Regions from separate parts of the Homo sapiens genome. Here all the other regions are linked to region 1. The links are contacts of gene promoters, found by promoter capture Hi-C in blood cells and fetal thymus (Javierre and others, 2016). All regions are on one chromosome and are shown on one strand. Each heading gives the region's core, a stretch centred on a gene start or on the middle of the fragment in contact. The rest is flanking DNA. Distances are from core to core; before and after follow the strand shown.

Region 1 (2,714 bases), core at 12-2,511:
TGCTTCTCTGGGGCTCTTAGTGTCTCAATTCTTCTGCTTTATCTGGGTTTTCCTTTACCCAGAATTTTATTATGTAAAATGCTTCACTCAGACTTTGTTCTAATTATCCAATTTTTGGCATACTCTAGAAAGTCTTTTGATATTTTCCTTCCTCCAACTTATCTATTTTTATTTCATAGTTCTCTTTGGTTATCTCTTAGAATCACACTTTCCTGGTTTTAATTTTTCAAATCCTTTGTCTTTCTCACTCGTTCTTAGGTCACCTTTTTTTACATTTTCAAATATATTTTTTGTTCAGCAGAGGGCTCCCTTCCCATCCCTCTTGCAGCCCGGGCAGCTAGGATTTGAAGCTTGCCCCTTGAATCTTTCTCTCCCGCCTTCTAGCCATCAGAAACACTAGATCACTTAAACTTGTAAACAATTCGGCCTCGCTCCTTGTGATTGCGCTAAACCTTCCGTCCTCAGCTGAGAACGCTCCACCACCTCCCCGGATCGCTCATCTCTTGGCTGCCCTCCCACTGTTCCTGATGTTATTTTACTCCCCGTATCCCCTACTCGTTCTTCACAATTCTGTAGGGTGCGTATTACTAACCCCAGTTTACAGCTGAGGAAACTGAGGCTTGGAGAGGTTCGCTCGGTATCGTACAGTTTGCAAGGTTAACCCTAATCCGGCCAGTTCTGGCTTTCCAGCCCAGCCCAGCAGCCTAGCCTCCCTCTCTGCCGCTGCAGGTTATAACGGCTCTCCCCCGTTTTACACGAGGTCCCTTCCCCTTCAAATCCACAGGCAGGAAGATCGTTCCGAACTGACGGGGCTGGGGAATGTGGGAGTCCGGAGTGGGGTTTGGGGGAGCTTCCTCAGGCCCTGAGTGTTGGGGTGGGCAGGCCGCGCCGATGGCCCTCGGGGATGTCACATTCGAGATGGGGTGACCGAGAACGGCAAGGCGGGATGTGGCAAACGGCGGCAAGTGCTCGGAGTCCTAGGTCTTGCCGCCGGAATGCCGGCCGGGGAAGGGGCTTCGGCCCACCGGGCTGGTCACCACACTCGGCAGGCCCGGGGCGGGAGTCGGCCGAGCAGCCGCGGGATGCAGGGCGCCCCCTCGCGCTCCTCCGCGCGCCTCGAGGCTGGCGGGTGCAGCGCCCGCCGCGGCAGGTCTGCTCCAGCCCCCTCCTCTTTTTCGCTCCCGCTCCCCTCCTTCTCTCCCTTTGCTTGCAACTCCTCCCCCACCGCCCCCTCCCTCCTTCTGCTCCCGCGGTCTCCTCCTCCCTGCTCTCTCCGAGCGCCGGGTCGGGAGCTAGTTGGAGCGCGGGGGTTGGTGCCAGAGCCCAGCTCCGCCGAGCCGGGCGGGTCGGCAGCGCATCCAGCGGCTGCTGGGAGCCCGAGCGCAGCGGGCGCGGGCCCGGGTGGGGACTGCACCGGAGCGCTGAGAGCTGGAGGCCGTTCCTGCGCGGCCGCCCCATTCCCAGACCGGCCGCCAGCCCATCTGGTTAGCTCCCGCCGCTCCGCGCCGCCCGGGAGTCGGGAGCCGCGGGGAACCGGGCACCTGCACCCGCCTCTGGGAGGTGAGTCCCGGGAGCCCCGGGCGCTTCCCCTGCGCGGGTTGGGGCTGCAACTTGCAAACTTCAGCAACTCGGGTGGGTATCGGGGTAGAGAGGTAGGGGTCCGGGCTCTGGCAAGTTGAAGCCAGGTAGGTGAGGCTGCGGGCGGGAGGACAGGGGGTCCCCTGGCTTCCGCGCCTCCCGCTGCCACCTCGGCTTGAGAGCCCTCATCGCTGCTGCGTTCCCGCCGCCAGCCAGCTTGGGTCCGGGTTGCACTGGGCCCTGCCAGGGCTGTGGTCGGCGCATCTGGGCTGCAGCGGCGATGGGGACCCGGGACCCAGGCCTGGAGAAGGAGACGGACGAGTGAGGCTGAGGGACGGAGGGACAGAGGTGCGGAGATGGAGGCTCAGAGAGGGCCGGCTAGTAAACAGCACTGAGGGAGAGTGCGGGCGGCGAGGCGCGTGGGAACGCGTGGCCCGCCCAGAGTGTGAAATCTCCCGCTCAGGGACGTCCCTGCTCCACCGCCGCCGCCTGCGGAGCCGCCGCCCGGATTCTTCCCAGACCCGCCTCCAGGACACTCTTGCCCTGACCAGGCCTGCGGAGCGTGAACTCTGCCCACCAGGCTCCAGGGGCAGTGGCTCAGGGCCCCGCACTCCCGGCTGGGAGGGTGGAGAGGGGTGCGGCAGCTGGAAGCAGGGACGCGAGCGGCGATTTCCCGATTTATGTTTCTCATGGTAATTTGTCTTTGTGGTTGGGGCTGCCCATTCACTTTCCGCTCACGTCCTGCGGGAGATCCAGCGAGGAGGGAGGGAGCGGGGGGCGCTCGGGCACAGAGAGGGATGCAGACGGGAGAGGGGATCGGGGACCCGCGCGGGGCGGGAGCCAAGAGGGAAGTGGTCGCCGGACCGGCGGAGGAAGAAGGCGAGGCTCGAGAAAACCCGGCCCAACGGAGCCGACTCCTTTGCCCACCGCAAACTTTAAACAAGGAGGAGGATCACCTGCAGCGCCGTTCTGGCCCCCTCCTCCCCGCCCCCGCCCCCCACCTCGAGCCCAGTCTTTGGGTAGTTCCGACTGCCCGCCGCGCCAGGCGGGAGTGGGCCGAGAGTCTGGATGGGGAGAGAGGAGCGCTGGATTCTGCCCGCACCCCTGCGATCCTGCCCAGGCTTTCTGCAGAGGGG
Region 2 (2,700 bases), core at 107-2,606, 270 kb after region 1:
CTGAGCCAGGCCCTAAAACATAGAACTTTAACAGGCAGAAATTGAAGGGGGCATGAGCAGAGGCCAGGAGGGAAGAGAGAACATAGGTCAGTGGGGAGATTGGACAGGGCCTTGCGTGGAGCAGACAGGCGGCATCAGCCATACTTGGGAGGGTCTTAAATGCTATCCTTATATAATTTTAACTTATAAAATGTTTGTGAACATGATTAAAGTATTTTAATTTTAATCTGGAGTATGATTTAAAATGTATTTTCATAAGAAACTGTTTTAGAATTACTTAGAGGAGGAGTCAGAACAGAAAAAAATAGAGTAATTACAGTTGTGATGTTGTAAACCAGAGTGGCCCATAGACCCCTGGGGGTCCCTGACACCCTTTCAGAGGATCTTTGAGATCAAAATTATTTTCATAATACTTCTAAGATGATACTTGCTTATTTCACAGTGTTGACATTTGCACTGATAATACAAATGCAATGGTGAACAAAACTGCTAGTGTCGAGACAGTGGGACCAAAGTGTACTAATAGTATTGTATTAAAAAAAAACACACACAGCTTTATTGGGGTATAACTGATATGTAATAAACAGCATATATTTAACGTGAACAGTTTGATTAAGTTTTACATATACCTACACCCAAGAAACCATCACCACATTCAAGATGACAGACATTTTGATCATGTCCAGAAGGTTCCCAGTGTCCCTTCCTAACCTGTCTCTCCCTACACCCTCATTCTCAGACACCACTGATCTACTTTCTGTCACTGCAGGTTAGTTTGGCAGTTCTAGAATTTCATAAAAATGGAATCATATAGTAAGTACTCCTTTTTCATGCTAACACTAATCAAAGGAGGAGACAGACATAGTTAACATCAGAACAAGTAAACCCAAGGTAGAGAGGGTATTTCATCACAATAAAAGGTCACTTCACCAAGCTGATATAATAATCCCAGATGTGTATGAACCCAATAACAGTTTCAAAATACATGAACAAAACTGACCAACCTAAAATGAGAAAAACACAAATACACAATTATAGTAGGGGGATTTCAATACCTCTGTCTCTATAATGGGTAAAACAAATATACAGAAAATCAGTAAGGATACAGGAGACTTGAACAATCAACTTGATTTAATTGACATTTATAAAACACTCCACCCAACAACAGAAAACACTATTTCCAAGTGCATATGGAATCTTTATCAAGATTGATTATATTCTGGGCCATAAAACAAGTTTCAATAATTTAAAAGGATTTAACTCATACAAATTATGTTCTCTCACCACAACAGAATTAAATTAAAAATTCATGACAAAAAGATAGCTGAAAAATCCCCAAAAATTTGAAATTAAACATTACACTTCCAAATAATCCATAAGTCAAATAGTAAATCACAAGGAAAATTAGGAAATATTAGGCTAGTCCTTGACTATAAGTCAAGGCTGAAGAGATATGCTAAGCAACAGTCTGCAAGTAAGAGACAGGGAGGCCCAATATTAGCCTTGGTATAATTTAGTTGCTTAAAAAGAAAAGTGCCGTCTGACAGTGCATTAATGGTATGATGTGCGGGTCATGGAATGTTACAATTCCATGGATACAGGTTCTGTGTAGACTGTATCTGGGGTTCAGTTTGGGAGCCAGGCTTTAGGGCTGTTGACAAAGTAAAGGAAATTGAGAGAAGAGCAATTGGAAGGAAAAGTTAATGCTGCTGTGTCTAGGTTAAAAAAAAAAAAAGATAAAGGAGAAGTTGGACAGTTTTCTGATAAAAATAGCAATTTTTGGCAGGAAATAAACTTGTTCTCTTTAGTTATAGAAAGCAGATCTAGGACCCTCCTCTGTAAGCTACCAGGAAGTAGATACTGATTTTGTAGTAAGTGGTCAACTAGCTAGCTACTTGTCGCTCTTTTCAGGGATGGTGTAGAATAGAACTTGCTGAGAATAGATGATTTTTAAAGATTTTTCCAACTCTTGAGGTATGTATGAGTAGACTCCAGAACAGATCACCCCACTGATCACCCTTTTTGGTTTTACAGATGCAGCACTCAAACAGGGCCTCCTGTTTCTAGCAAGACTCAAGACAGATTCCTGGGCCCACATTGACTTCAGACATTTGACTACCCATAAGTGGCTGAACTTAATTGGGAAGAGAATCCCAACTCTCAATGCTGTCTATTTTTACACTGACAATTTTGCTTTTTTTTTTTTTTTTTTGAGACAAGGTCTTGCTCTGTCACTCAGGCACTCAGGCTGGAGTGCTGTGGTGCAAACATAGCTCCCTGAAGCCTTGACCTCCCAAGCTCAAGTGATCCTCCCTTCTCAGCCTCCCAAGTAGCTGGGACCACAGGTGCATGCCACCACGCCCAGCCAATTTGTTAAAAAAAAAAAAAAAACCTTTTTGTAGAGACAGAGCCTCACCAAACATTGCCCACGCTGGTCTTGAACTCCTGGACCCAGGCAGTCCTCCCACCTCAGCCTCCCAGAGTGCTGGGATTACAGGCATGAGCCACTGCACCTGGCTGACAGTTTTGCTTTTTAAGTCATTATTACTGTTAGACAGGAGGCCAGGGAAGTCTCTCCTCAGTTTCTCATACAGTAACCTCACCCTGTAGAAAAACCTTCAGTGATTCTTTCCAAAGCAGGGCTCTAGAACAGGGTTTTTCATGTGGGGTTGGTCTGTCACCTCTTTGAAAGTATATATA
Region 3 (2,700 bases), core at 37-2,536, 290 kb after region 1:
GTGGTGCAGTCATAGCTCACTGCAGCGTCAAACTCTTGGCCTCAAGCAGTACTTCCACTTTGGCCTCCAAAAGTGCTGGGATTACAGGCATGAGCCACCATGCCCAGCCTAGAATTTTATCAGTAACTTGCATTTGTGCTGTGTTCTTCCCAATCCCTTTCCTGTCTGTTCCGTTCACTCTCCTCATTCTCTTGTTTAAACAAAAAAGTTTTGTCACATTATCTGTCCATCTATCCATCTGTCTTATCTCTGTACACATATGCACACATATATATTTTTTTCTATTGGTTCTCTTTCTTTGGAGAACCTTGACTGATATACCATATGACCCAGCAATTCCATTCCTAGGTGTATACCCAAGAAAAATGAAAATATATGTCCACACAAAAACTTTTTTTTTTGTTGTTTGAGACAAAGTTTCGCTCTTGTTGCCCAGGCTGGAGTGCAATGGCTCGATCTCGGCCCACCGCAACCTCCGCCTCCCAGGTTCAGGCAATTCTCCTGCTTCAGCCTCCTGAGTAGCTGGGATTAAAGGCATGCACCACCAGGCCCAGCTAATTTTGTATTTTTAGTAGAGACGGGGTTTCTCCAAGTTGAAGCTGGTCTCGAACTCCTGACCTCAGGTGATCCACCCGCCTTGGCCTCCCAAAATGCCAGGATTACAGGTGTGAGCCACCGTGCCTGGCCCACACAAAAACTTCTACACGAATGTTTACAGTAGTAGTATTCATAATAGCCCAAAGTGACACAACTCAAATATCAATCATCTGATGAGTGGATAAACAAAATGTGGTATATGTGTACAATGGAATGTTTTTCAACTATCACAAGGAATGAAATACTGATGCATGCTATAGCCTGGCTAAATCTTATGGTATATAATGAATCTAATGTTATGTGTTATGTCTGTATCTGGTTATCTGACTGTATCTTCTGTTGGTTCTGTTTCTCTGAGGAACTCCGATACACCATATGATCCAGTAATCCCATTCGTATGAGTATATACGTAGATAGATATCTTTACATGATGTCTACATGTACGTAAATGTAGATATCTATAAATACATAGATAGAAATGTCTGTATTTATATAGAGAACAAGAGATTGAGATTTACTTTAAGGAATGGGCTTACTTGATTGTAGTGGCTGGCATGTCTGAAATTTGTAGGGCAGGCTGGCAGGCTGGAAACTCACATAGGACTTCTATTACAGTCTTGAGGCAGAATTTTTTTCTCTAAGACATCTCAGTTTTTGCTCTTAAGGACTTCAACTAATTGGGTAAGGACCACATACATTATTGAGTATAATCTCCTTTACATAAAGTCAGTTGATTGTAAATGCTAATAATATCTTCAAGTTATCTTCACAGCAACATCCAGATTATTGTTTGACCAAACAACTGGGTGCTATTGTCTAGCCACCTTGACTCAAAATTAATCATTACATATGGTAACTCTGTGTTTAACCTTTTGAGGAACTCCCAGGTTTCTGAAGCACCATTTTACATTCCCACCAGCAATGTATGAAGATTCTGATTTCTCTGCATCCTCACCAACACTTGTTAATATCTGTCTTTTTTTTATTAGCACTATCCTGGTGTGAAGTCATATCTCATCATGGAGATTTGCTTTTTTAAGTTCAATATTGTGTTTCTAAGATTCATTTGTGTTGTCACATGTAAGCTGTTCATTCCTTTTCACTGTGATATAATACTGTGTTAAGGTAGCCCATAATTTATTCATTATTAATATTTATTCATTGTTACTATTTTAGTTACTATTCATATATTAATATATGTATATATATCAATAATTTATTATATTTATAATAATTTATATATTATTCATTGTTCTATTGATGGATGATTCAGTGTTCAATTTTTTGCTTCTATGAACAGAATATTCTTGTACATGTTTCCTGGCACACATGTGCAAAAGTTTATCTAGACTGTGTATAAATCTCAGAGTGGTATTGCTGGTCCATAGGGTATACAATACTCAAGTTTACGAGATAATGCCACCCATGTTTTCCAAATGTCTCTATCAGTTTGCTTTCCCATTAGTGTATAAGACTTTTGTCTCTCAATGTCCCACTTGGAACTATCAGGCCCCTTTTTGCCAATTTCATGGATTTCTCAATTTGCACTTCCCTGGAGGCTAAACATATCTTCATATGTTTATTAGTCCTCTGATTGCTCCTTTTTAAAATGCTTATCATTGTGTCTTTTGCCCATTTTTTAAAATTTGCTCATTTCTCTTATTGATATGTGTAGATTATTCTACACATTAATATTTTATCAGTTATATATGTTACAGGCATCTAGTTTGTTTTTTTCCTTTGTGGTGTTTTTTCGTAAACAGAAGTTGTTGATTTTAATGCAGTTCCTCATTAATGCTATACCTTATATTTACTCTGTCTTAAAGCCACGTTTAGATGGATAGCCATCTCATTCTTGTAGCCAAGCATGTTTATTGTAATTTTTCTTCCATCTCTGAAATAATTTGCTTGTCAGACTCTATAGGGATTATTCCTCTGTATGTGGTACTTTAAAAAAAAAACTTTAAACATGTCAAATAATGGAAAAGATTGGAGAAAATATCATAAGGTGATTCATACTTAAGGCCATGACTTATAGATAGAATACATACTTAAATTTGATTGGTGAAATATTCTGCAGCTCTTCTAGATGGCAGGTGATAG
Region 4 (2,707 bases), core at 160-2,659, 310 kb after region 1:
CAGATGATGTGATATGCGGGGATGAACAGGTGATCAACAGGTGAAATATGGAAAATTGAGGGAAAGGCTATGCCAGATGGAACTATGTAATGGGTATATGTTCAGCCTGGCACGTATGCAGAACAGACCTAGTTTTGAGGAAGTTAAGTCTGGAGGGGTATGGAGGAAGCATGGAGCGGGGAGCCCAGGTCTAGTTAGGACGCTGTAATAAAAGCTTAGTCAAAAGACAAGAGCTGAACAAAAAGAGGAGGCCAGAATGAAGAATAGGGATTGAGGAGCTATTTTGGAAGTAAAGTCAGGAGTACCTAGGGACCAGCTGGGTTTGTCCTTCACCTTTCCCTCTCTGTCTTTTGCCATACACATACCTTCACTATATCATGGTTCACGTTGCATTGCAGTTGTTTGTTTGCATGCCTGTCTCTCACACTGGGCTCAGTGCTCCTTGTGAACTGGATCCTTTTCTTAGTTATCTTTCTATCTCCAGAGCCTAAACATGGTGCCTTGCAGATGCAGGCACTCAGTAAATATTCAATCAAATAATTCCTAAGCTAATGAAGATCGGAGTGACGAAGAGGGTAGAGTCAAGGACTCTAGATGGAAAGTGATGTTTTTCACGTGATTGGGGATATAAGAGGAAGGGCAGGTTTGGGGAGATGACAAGGAATGAGAGTTTGGAGTCTGCGTTGAGCTTGAGGTGATCACAGGTATTGCTAACCACCTAATCTCTCCTCTTATGCAGGTGTCTTTAAGGAACAGAGAGGAGGCTCCTTTAACTGCCAGAGGCTGTCTTGATCACAGTCTTAATTCAACTCATATACACCACTAAAAGAGAAAGCTTCTACATCTATCAGTCTCAGAACCAGCTCAGGTGGTGATAAAGATAGGTAAAGAGGACATGCAAGGATAACCCACTAACCCTGATTTATTTGTGCTGACCAGCAATGCAACCAGGTCAGTGGAAGAAACAACAGGATTTGTTGTTGAGTCCAGAATTGAGTCCAGAAATGCTCAAATGTGTACATATTTATACAAAACGAAACCTACCTTCTTTCTTTGTTTCTTCTTTTGACTCTACCAGGGACTCCTTTGGGAAGGTCTGTGGCACCCCTAAGCTGCTTGCTTTCTTGGCCCAAATCAACTGAAGGTGGAAACCCAAGACTAGAGCTCAGAGAAAAAAACAGATGGAGACAGAGACTGAGGAGTCATTGGTGGGTGTCCATAAAAGATAAGTCAGTAGAGAGATGATAGAGATAGATAGACAGATCGATAGATAGATAGATAGATAGATAGATAGATAGATAGATAGATAGATAGATAGATAGATGACTGGTAGAGAGAGATAGGAGAAATGTTGGCTAATCTGCTAGGAATAGATGATACTCTAAGGGGAATGAAAACAAAGGGATCAAAAATTATACTTTTAGAAATAGAAAAGTTGTAAAATAGACATAGAATTCCATCTCGGAACATTATAAGAAATGGTACAGAATTACAGATATGGGTCAGAGGGTTAGAAGAAGGCCCAGAAATTGACAAGGATGGTTAAGTTTATTGAGGATAACCTTTTGGAAAGCCTAGAATGCCAGCATAAGAGATTCAAACTTAGATTCCCGAGCAACAGAATGACAGATCCGATGCTGACTATTCTCGCACTGGAACAAGGCAGCTCCGTTGACTTCAAGCCTAAGAATGCATGCCTCCCCTGACCAGCTCTCTGAAGGAGACCAAGCAGGGATTCCTAAAGAGCTCAAAGAACACCTGTGCAACAAAACTGCACATTCTGCCCATGTACCCCAGTATAATTAAAAAAAAAAAACCACCTAATTAATGATAAATCCAGAGCGCCATCCTTATATATGAAAAATCACGCTATCATTACCTAGTTTTAGGAAAAGAAGAAAATCAAAGAAGCAAGTAGGCTGAAAAGAGGAAAGTGGAGAGTTGAGTTTCTGACCCACTAGGTTCTGGTGACTGAGAAGCTTCTACACAGAAATGCCCTGAGGCCAAGTGACACAGCTGACTGTTGAGCTGAAGCCTGGTAATATTCCTCTGGGAATCAGCTAGAGTGAGGTGGAAGTTGTTGTACTAATATTCTCCATGGAGAGGGGAAAGAGGAGGAAGCTAAGGACTGCATAATGGAGAATATGTAGGGAATGGAAAAAGGGAAAGTAACTGAGGAAAGAGAATGAGGGATGGCCTTTCCACTCTCTCCCTTCTCTTCTCCTCCTTATTTTCCCTTCCCTTCTTTCTGCCTCTCTAACATTCTAACACTCTCTTCAGTCTCCTGCATTTTGTCCCTCTTTTACTCAAACAATCCACAGGCTTTGTCATTCCCTTGGGAGTTGTCTTATGGGGAGGAAGCTGTCCACTCCTAGCTTAATGGTTGCTGCCCTGGGTCAGACTCAGCACTGACCGCATTCACACTCAGCTCCAAATGAAAGGGAAAGTAGATGGCTTGGGATTTAGCCTTGACAGCCAGAGGCTACGAACCTGTCCCAATGGCTGGGAGGCAAATGGATGAGTAATTTTTTTTTTCACACTCCTGCAAAACAGAGGAAACTGAACTCTTGACATCATTTCCACCAATTACATGAATGATATTCTTGCACCTCAAAAATCCACCTCCGGTGATTATATAATCATTTTTGCGCTGCTGAGCTGGGAAACACAGACAAAAAGATGCAAAATTAGTAGAAGTTGAACCCGT

What was found. Contacts are between HindIII fragments. The CHiCAGO score rates a contact against its expected background, and 5 or more counts as called.
Region 2: a contact is called between a fragment that was not itself captured here and the fragment with the promoter of SEMA5B in region 1, in 9 of 17 cell types (M2 macrophages, naive CD4 T cells, naive B cells and 6 more). The highest score is 11.5, in M2 macrophages.
Region 3: a fragment that was not itself captured here is called in contact with the fragment with the promoter of SEMA5B in region 1 in 2 of 17 cell types (M2 macrophages and M1 macrophages); the score reaches 12.3 in M2 macrophages.
Region 4: a contact is called between a fragment that was not itself captured here and the fragment with the promoter of SEMA5B in region 1, in 1 of 17 cell types (M0 macrophages). The highest score is 5.6, in M0 macrophages.

What each region holds. Positions count from the first base shown.
Region 1 is chr3:123,026,310-123,029,023 of GRCh38, reverse strand. SEMA5B (semaphorin 5B) reads left to right here and starts at 1,261. Exons shown (of 23, transcript NM_001031702.4): 1 at 1,261-1,560. RefSeq lists an enhancer at 150-657. The HindIII fragment of the contact is 2,453 bases long and covers 353-2,714 here.
Region 2 is chr3:122,761,307-122,764,006 of GRCh38, reverse strand. The region is part of intron 3 of HSPBAP1 (HSPB1 associated protein 1); the gene reads left to right. Among named protein-coding and RNA genes, the nearest start is that of HSPBAP1, 31 kb to the left of the region's middle. The HindIII fragment of the contact is 5,963 bases long and covers 1-2,700 here.
Region 3 is chr3:122,741,275-122,743,974 of GRCh38, reverse strand. The region is part of intron 6 of HSPBAP1 (HSPB1 associated protein 1); the gene reads left to right. Among named protein-coding and RNA genes, the nearest start is that of HSPBAP1, 51 kb to the left of the region's middle. The HindIII fragment of the contact is 2,946 bases long and covers 1-2,700 here.
Region 4 is chr3:122,714,213-122,716,919 of GRCh38, reverse strand. It overlaps PARP14 (poly(ADP-ribose) polymerase family member 14), which reads right to left. Exons shown (of 17, transcript NM_017554.3): 12 at 2,491-2,658. Among named protein-coding and RNA genes, the nearest start is that of PARP14, 35 kb to the right of the region's middle. The HindIII fragment of the contact is 1,144 bases long and covers 838-1,981 here.